Linked DNA regions of Homo sapiens: region 2 is linked to region 1. Evidence: promoter capture Hi-C in 16 types of primary human blood cells and fetal thymus (Javierre and others, 2016). All regions are on one chromosome and are shown on one strand. The core of a region is centred on a gene start or on the middle of the fragment in contact, and the rest is flanking DNA. Distances in the headings are between cores, read along the strand shown.

Region 1 (4,085 bases), core at 1,033-3,532:
AAAAGAAGGTCAGTATCATGTATGTGGGCAGACAAGAAGGTGGTTAGTTGCAGAAGTCCTGTTAATTGCAGAAGTCTGAGCCAGGAAACCATCAGAGAGGGTTTTTCCTTACAGTTTGAGGCCCCTTGGGCCCAAGACAAAACATCATATGGCACCCTTGACATATGGCACCCTTGACAAAGCTTAAGGCAGGGACCCTGGGCCCTTTCCACTCTGGGTCTGCTGGAAGGGAAGGGCAGAGCTTCCTAAAAAGGGAGCCAACTGGCCTCTCCACATGGAGGCCCTAATGGTTTGATGGATGCACTGCTAGCCCTGCAGAAACCCACAAGAGGGAGAGAATCATTGGTAGGGGACTCAGGGAAGAGGAAGATCTCGGTCTCCCAAAAAAATTTTCTCTTTCTGGAGAATATGGGCTTCGAGCTGGATATCAAGGAGGCAAAGAAGGAGCACATAGGAGGGTAGGGAGTGAAGTGGAAACTTCCCTGGTGAGTAGGGGAAGCAAAGAAAGGAGAACAAGGCAAAGGGACTAAGAAAAGATTAACTTACAAGAACAAATGCTAGAGTCTTGTCTCCAGAGGTAGTGCAACCAGAAATCCTGAAGAGCAGTTGAATTGAGAAGAGAAGTGGGAGGTCAGGGGGTTGGGGGAAGAGGTGACTGGTGGCTGAGAGGCCATGGCTGGGAAAGAGAGAAAGGAATAAACTGGGGAGGGCTGGTAACCTTGATAGGAATTTATGTAGGAAATGAGAGTGCAAACAGGAAGGGCTTAATGAGGGCTGTGATTGTCTGGAAGGAGAAAAAGGGGAGATTTGGCACCTCCTGGAACCTGGGGAAAGTAATTGTCTGGGTAAATGGTAAGTGTATTTCCCACAGGGTCAGAGCAGGCTTTGATCTTTAGGAGAAGACAAATTGCTTTCCATCTTGCTGAAGCCAAAGGCTTAAATGGTCAGACGTGTGTCATAGGTGGGTGCAAAGGGAAGGAAATATAATACATCCTCATGGCCAAGTGCCCTGGGCTTGGATCACTGTGTCCTTGGCCAAGTTAACCAACTTCTTTAAGCTTCCAATGATTCATGTACAAAAAAAGATACAAAAATACCTTTCACATGTGGTTCTTCCAGAAAGCGCTTGGCACAGGGCCTGGTACATAAACAAATTCAATAAGGGTTAACTATTTTCATAATTACAGTTAGTCTGCATCGCTAGAAGCACATTATTCAAATGAGGATATGGACTGGTCAGATGACAGTGGAAACGGTGTTCAGATCTAGGGGCCCCCACCTAGTAAGAACAACACTAATCAACTCTAGCCTGCCCAGGGGACAGTGACCCAGAGAACTAGGAAACCTTGAAAAATGAAGAAATATGAAATACTAATAAAAATTAAGAAAACCCACAAGCGTTTAACCCAGATAATATTTGGGGACATGAGGGGGTTATGTGAAGAGAAAACAATGTTCCATTTAACTTTAGGAAATGGCGATATTATTAAAGATTTTGGAGGCATTAGTCATCATCCTTTGGTCAAGTTTATTAACCTCTCCAGTGCCTCTGTTTTTTCATCCATAAAATGGGATTCACTAGATCACCTATCTTATAAGATTACTGTGGCAATTAAATGAGTCAGTATGTGCTAAGTGCTTAGAAGACTATCTAGCACATAATAAATGCTCAATAAGTCCTGAGGAGCAACTGGATTGACAGGAGAAGTTGGTGCTGGTTATTATTATTACTATAATTATTACCCTGGGTAAGTTTTTAATAGTTCCAGCAATGAAAAAATGAGAATAGCCTCCTTGCAGCAGTAATTCCCTCTTACTGGAACAGTTCAAAAAGTCGCTGATAACGACCAGTCAATCATTAGAGAGGAGACTCCTCGTCCTGGGAGAAAGCCGATTTGTCATCTCTTAAACCCCAGGGCATCCAGCGTGAAGGAGGTAGAACTAGGCCGGCCCGCGAGGAGGCAGGGGCAGGCGCCAGTGACGCAATGACTGCAACATGCCGCCAGGGTGCAGCAGAGCCCGACCCCGGGTTGTTCCATCCGCAGCAAACAATTCCTAACTCGCTCCAGGTCTTCCTTCTTAGCTGAGTGGGTTGAACCCCGTGGAAGTAACCCCCCGCCCATTATGATGATCCAGCCAATCACCGCGTGATCTGCTCGGACGGGGCGGGATCGCGGCGCTTCCCTCGGTCGCTCAGAGACTGGGTTCCGCGTTCCAGCCCCGCCCCAGGTTCTGGGCCAATCCCCGCGGCTGGGCAGAGCGACCCGAGGGCGGCGCCCTGCAGACCACGTGGCCCGGGAGGCGCCGAGGCCAGGTAGGTGGTGAGTTACTTGGCTCGGAGCGGGCGAGGGGACGCGTGGGCGGAGCGGGGCTGGCCAGCCTCGGCCCCCATGACCCGCTGTCCTGTGCCCTTTCCCAGCGATGGGCGTGCAGCCCCCCAACTTCTCCTGGGTGCTTCCGGGCCGGCTGGCGGGACTGGCGCTGCCGCGGCTCCCCGCCCACTACCAGTTCCTGTTGGACCTGGGCGTGCGGCACCTGGTGTCCCTGACGGAGCGCGGGCCCCCTCACAGCGACAGCTGCCCCGGCCTCACCCTGCACCGCCTGCGCATCCCCGACTTCTGCCCGCCGGCCCCCGACCAGATCGACCGCTTCGTGCAGATCGTGGACGAGGCCAACGCACGGGGAGAGGTCAGCGGGCGGGGTCAGCGCAGGGAGGGAGGGGCCTGGAAGGTCAGCGGGGGACACGGGCGGAGCTGGGGAGACCGGGCCTGGGATAACTTAACTGGGCTCGGGGAGGCAGACAGTAGGGCCGGGAGACTGGGAAGCCAGTGCGGGGGAGGGAAGCGCTAAACGGAAGGAACTAAAGAGAGGGCGAAGCAGTGCGAACTGGGCTTGAGGAGAGGCAGTGAAAACCAGCTAATACTGTGAGTTGTGAAGGAGAAGGGTGTGGACAGACACCTGGGAGAGGTGGGGGTTGAAGTCAGGTGGAGGCTGTTTACCATTTTCTAGAGTAAAGCTGTCCAAATATAATGGAACCTAAGTGGCTCCATGTAATGTTAATTTTTCTAGCAACGGCATTCTTAAAAAGCAGGGAAGCAGATAAAATTAACTTTGGTGATCTTAATGAGATATTTTCATTCTTTTTTCTACTACCTCTTCATACCCTGTTGCGTTTTTCACACTACATCTCAGTTTGGACTAGCCACATTTCGAGTACAGTAGCCACAGTAGCCGTGGCTACTGTCTTCTGTATTGAACACCACAGGTGGAGGGCTGTGTAGAGGTGGACAGCTCTTGAACCAGCCAGTGCAGAGGCCTCCTAGCCACCTAGTGCAGGGACAGCCCTCCCTGACTTTGCTGCAGAGCCCTGGACCTGGCACAGAAGAAGGAGCTGTGGGGAGAACCAAGTGAGGGGCAGGAAACAGTTGTGGGTGGGGGAGTTGAGTGGCACCCATCGAGCCCCCTCTTCGTAGGCTGTGGGAGTGCACTGTGCTCTGGGCTTTGGCCGCACTGGCACCATGCTGGCCTGTTACCTGGTGAAGGAGCGGGGCTTGGCTGCAGGAGATGCCATTGCTGAAATCCGACGACTACGACCCGGCTCCATCGAGACCTATGAGCAGGAGAAAGCAGTCTTCCAGTTCTACCAGCGAACGAAATAAGGGGCCTTAGTACCCTTCTACCAGGCCCTCACTCCCCTTCCCCATGTTGTCGATGGGGCCAGAGATGAAGGGAAGTGGACTAAAGTATTAAACCCTCTAGCTCCCATTGGCTGAAGACACTGAAGTAGCCCACCCCTGCAGGCAGGTCCTGATTGAAGGGGAGGCTTGTACTGCTTTGTTGAATAAATGAGTTTTACGAACCAGGGCACGTTGCATGGTACTTTATAAAGCATTCCCACACATTAACTTACTTCAGCCTCACTGTAGCCCTGTGATACAGGAAAGACAGATGGGCCATCTCTGTTCTTTGGATGAGGTGGGCAAAGCTCAGAGAGGCCCATCTTCAACACTTCTAGAAAGTGGAAGGATGGGCCAGAACAGCAACACACGTCTTCAATCCCTTGAAGATGCTGAAATGCTATGTAT
Region 2 (4,364 bases), core at 1,161-3,660, 640 kb before region 1:
TATGGGCATGGGAAAGTTATGTTATCTATGAATTTCATTGCAGGTTAGTAGAGAAGAATTGAAGAAATAATGGACCTAACAAGGCAGAGTTGGATGTCATAGGGTTGAGAACATTGTCCTAGATGGTGTGCCCTGTATCAAACTCTAATCCCAACTCTTCCCATCACTCCCTCCCACTCCACCACACTGACCTGTCAGCTTTCCAATCAGGCTGGTGCCCACATCAGAGTCTCTGCTCTTGCTGTTTCTCTGTTTGAAATGCCCATCCCCTAAATCTCATTGCCCTCACTTCACTCAGGTCTTCACTCAAAAGCCACCTCCTCTGAGAGGTCTTCCACAACCATCATTCATCACATCACTCTCCATCCCCAAGCATCCTTTAAATTCCTCCATAGTACATATCACTACCTAAAATGCTATTAGCTATTATAATATTTATTTACCTGTCTGTCATTTGTCTTCATCATGGGAATATGTATTCCATGAAGAAGGTGGAATCTACTATTTTGGTGCCTGGAATAATGGGAAGTGGCATGAAGTGGGTGCTTGATGAATATTTGTTAAATAAGTGAATTAATGCCTGAAGATACTGTCTGTGCTCCTGCTCCCTGGAAGCTAGGAGTAATCTCTTTCTCTTTCCTATCTATATAATTTATAGTCAATTGAAGTCAGCATTAATTCTTTCAAATATATCCATCAAATGCCTACCATATTTCAGGCACTGAGAATACAATAATAAATAACACATATCCTGCCCGCATACTTTTCAATTAATGATCAGCTCCAGCATCTCTGAAGTATTTGAGTCCTACAGTGAAGTGACTTCATAAAAAACACACCCATTTCTATTTTACATTCTGAGTATCTTTAAAATACAGTAATTATGATATTCATAAATTAGGAGATATCCCTTATGTATTCAGAAGAAAATTGTTATCACACACAGAAGAATTTTTACTCATGTGGAAAATCTTTTCCCCAGTCCTGGTGATATCCTTCAAGTCTCCAAAACACCACCCCTCAGGATGAAGAGAGTTGAAGGCTAGGCAATAGTTAAATAAGCAGAAGCTTCTAGTTCCCTTGAGTGGGGTAGCCAGGAGGACCCTCTACCTACTTGGCTGAGATAAAGTCTCCTATCTAAGGCACAGAGGGACCACATGCTCTCTGAAGGATCCTGCCAGCTAGAAAACTCCAATCAGACCTCTTAGGGTAGCACAGGGTGGCATCTGCCCCTGCTGATGACACACAGCCACCCTGGATGTTCCAGGCAGGGGCTGAGCATTCAGACCCTTTCCTTTCCCTATTTTGTGTCCAGGTACCCTCCCCGTATGCTTAGGAGAAAGACAAAAGCAACTTGAAAACTAACATAGCCTCTATATTTGCACAGTGCTGTACAACAAACTTTTCATCCATTTTTTACACTTGTAGGAAAGACAATATACTCTTTTTTTTAATACATAAGCAAATTAAAGTGCAGATGTTCGGCAACTTGGCAAAGCTGCTTCTTATACCGAGGTCTTCTGATTCCAAGATAGGGAATAGAAATGACAAGACAAAATCAGGCTTGGGGAATTATCTGTGGATTTTAATTCTCACAGGTATAGAGCTTCACATAAAGAGCTGGCTCTATCAAATTCTGATCAAACATTTAAACAAATCCCAACACACTGTCTATTTGGGCACACATACCCGCCCTGTTTCCACCTCATCCCCAGCCCTCACAATTCCATGAAGTCTGATCATTATTTCCAGAAAGACTCTAGAAATGAGCAAACCATCGAGTGGGCCCTTGCCCCGAATTTTAACAGTGATATAGAAATAATATCCTTACCTTCTCGGAATTCTCATGGTTAAGCACCTCCATTACCATGCTATGATGGAGGGAGAATCAGGAAGATGTATGCAGTATTCTAGACTATGGTGGAAAAATGTGACATACCCCTTTCCTGAACTCCCTTCCCCTTCCCCTTCCCCCACCACTACCACACACTAATGTTTCCTTTCAGGCGAGGGCTTAAAGCAAAAATATCTAGGATAGGCTGAGTTAACAATAAACAAAAGGCTCCAGGAAAGAATGCCCAGGAACTTCTGGTCCACACCATGTCCTCCAAAGGGCATATCTATGGGACCAGTGGGAGAGAGATAACATCTGAATTGGCCTTCCACCAAGGTAACCCAGAAATGTAAAGCTATGTTAGCTCTTACTAGAAGAATTTTAAGTCTTTAAAGTACCATACTACTTCAAGAGAATTTCAAAAGTTTCCATTTGCTATAAACATGCACACATGGAAGCAGCAAACATCAATCTCCCTCCAGGGTCCTCCTATCTACACTGTCAATTCCCCTTACCTTTTGGCATGGCTGCTTTAAACTCCTCTGTGGACTTTCCCGCCTCCCCCACCTCAGCTTCCTTAGAGTGCAAGTGCACAGCTGTGTCCTCTGGTCGCCCGTCCAGAGTCCCGCATGGGAGAGATGCTGAGTCTCCCCAGCAGTCCTGGGACACGTATCTTCTCAGGTTTCCTGGGTTCACCTGAGGTGGAGGTCGGTTCCTGGCAGGGGCAGCTCCCTCTAGCTAATAAGCTAGAGGTAGCAATATGCAAGGGAGAGAGCCAGACCAGCCCAAAATAGAAATCCAAGCTACATCACACAATCTGACCAAGCTCCCAATCTGGCTAAATGTGGCCCATTAGACAAGACAAGGAGACAGCAAAAATGAACGCGGGAGGAGAGAGGTGGTGAGAACATGGCTTTTTGAAAATCAGGAATTATGGAAATAACATTCAGATACAACACTTGAAGTCTGTCCTACAAACAGAAAGGGGTACAAACTTTTCACAGTAAATAGCATTTAAGTATAAAACCTTCGAGTTTCTGGGGACAAGCTCATCCAGCTTGCTGCTGGTAATTAGTGTGTTGCTCTGTGGTTTATTCCACTGAGACAAAGAGCAATGATTACATTTCACCTGACAGATCAGAAAGTGAGTGATGAGCTTGAGCGCAAAAAGCCTCAGGAATGAAAAAGTGTAGCTGACAGACAGTGCAAGAAACTACCCTCTGCATGACCGTGTCAGGCAGAGACATCCTGACATCCACCAAATGATAACCCTGGTCAAGGAAGGTGTTACCTCAGAGGACAGTTGGACATTTTCTCATTGGCATATGGGACAATCTGCCTTTTTGTGGTCTCAGAGGTCAAAGGAGGGAATCAGAGTGGTTCCAAAACCTGTGACTTTCCGTCTTGGTCACTATGTGCCAATTATCTAACTGTGAAGTAAAGGATTCAAATGCTATGTCAGTCGGGCTGAACAGAGAGAAGCAGCAGACATCTGAGCCTCTACTAGACAATGAAAATCTGTAAGAGAGGAATACAGAAAGAATGAAGAGGGAGGGGACACAAAAAGAGAGAAGGTCCAGGATTCTCAAGGAAAAGGGTTTCCTTTCTCTCCCCTATAGCCTCCAGGGAGGAGTAAATATAATTATCAACCTAGCATGACAGTAGTCAAAATAAAAGAGGCACCTGCCAGGTGACCATCTCTGCCGGGACTCGAACCCGGAACCTCTGGATTAGAAGTCCAGCGCGCTCGTCCATTGCGCCACAGAGACCTCACCACACACACAGCATCAGCACCAGAACTGAAAAAGCACATACCTTCTGCATCACCGAGCCATCTCAGCATCCTGCTCTCTGAGCGGTGGGGGGGGACAGGGACAGCTGGAAAATCTGGAGTGGAGATCCACCAGCCGGCTTCATCAAAGCTTTTCTCAATACTCTGGGTCCGATGGTCCCCAGAGGATTGGGGGAATGTGACAGCAGTCAATTTCCCAGACTCAGAATCCCTGATGGAACAGGACAGAACTAGAGCCTTTGCTCTCCTTTCCTCTCCATCCCTTAGGGATGATACGAAAATCTCTCGATTCTCATGCTAATTAAGCAGAGTGCACCCAACCCTGCAGAAAACGCAGAAGCCATCTCTACCTCCACCCCCACTCCCTCACTGTGGTTTCATCCCAGTCCAGCTATTCTCAGACAGGGGCTGGGCAACGCTTGGGGATTCAGGAAAACCCTCGATCCCAGAGACAAAGGAGCTGCTTCCGTAAAGGAACACTGTGAACAACGGCAGCAGAGAATGGCAGCTGAGTTCTAAGAGACTGGTCTGGTTCTCAGCAATAAGAACTGTATCTGTCAAGCCCAGGCAAGAGGTACAGGGAGTCTGATGTGATGTTCCTTCAGCATCTTCACTAGAATTAAGCATGGGAGTGAAGAAAAAACAGTGTTCAGTGTGTGTGTTCAGTGTGTAAGTATGTGTGAACGTATATGTGTGAGAGAGTGTGTGTATGAGAGATAGAGGGAGGAAGAGTGGGTG

What was found. Contacts are between HindIII fragments. The CHiCAGO score rates a contact against its expected background, and 5 or more counts as called.
Region 2: a fragment that was not itself captured here is called in contact with the fragment with the promoter of DUSP23 in region 1 in 7 of 17 cell types (endothelial precursors, M2 macrophages, M0 macrophages and 4 more); the score reaches 23.4 in endothelial precursors.

What each region holds. Positions count from the first base shown.
Region 1 is chr1:159,778,680-159,782,764 of GRCh38, forward strand. It overlaps DUSP23 (dual specificity phosphatase 23), which reads left to right and starts at 2,283. Exons shown (of 2, transcript NM_001319658.2): 1 at 2,283-2,688; 2 at 3,474-3,864. The coding sequence starts at 2,422. The coding sequence ends at 3,659. LOC101928264 (a long non-coding RNA gene) reads right to left here and starts at 702. Exons shown (of 3, transcript XR_922193.3): 1 at 547-702. RefSeq lists a silencer at 2,218-2,607 and an enhancer at 2,599-3,175. The HindIII fragment of the contact is 4,062 bases long and covers 1,057-4,085 here.
Region 2 is chr1:159,138,082-159,142,445 of GRCh38, forward strand. TRR-TCT4-1 (tRNA-Arg (anticodon TCT) 4-1) reads right to left here and starts at 3,603; the gene lies at 3,530-3,603. It also overlaps a transcript of AIM2 not described here. The HindIII fragment of the contact is 2,688 bases long and covers 1,067-3,754 here.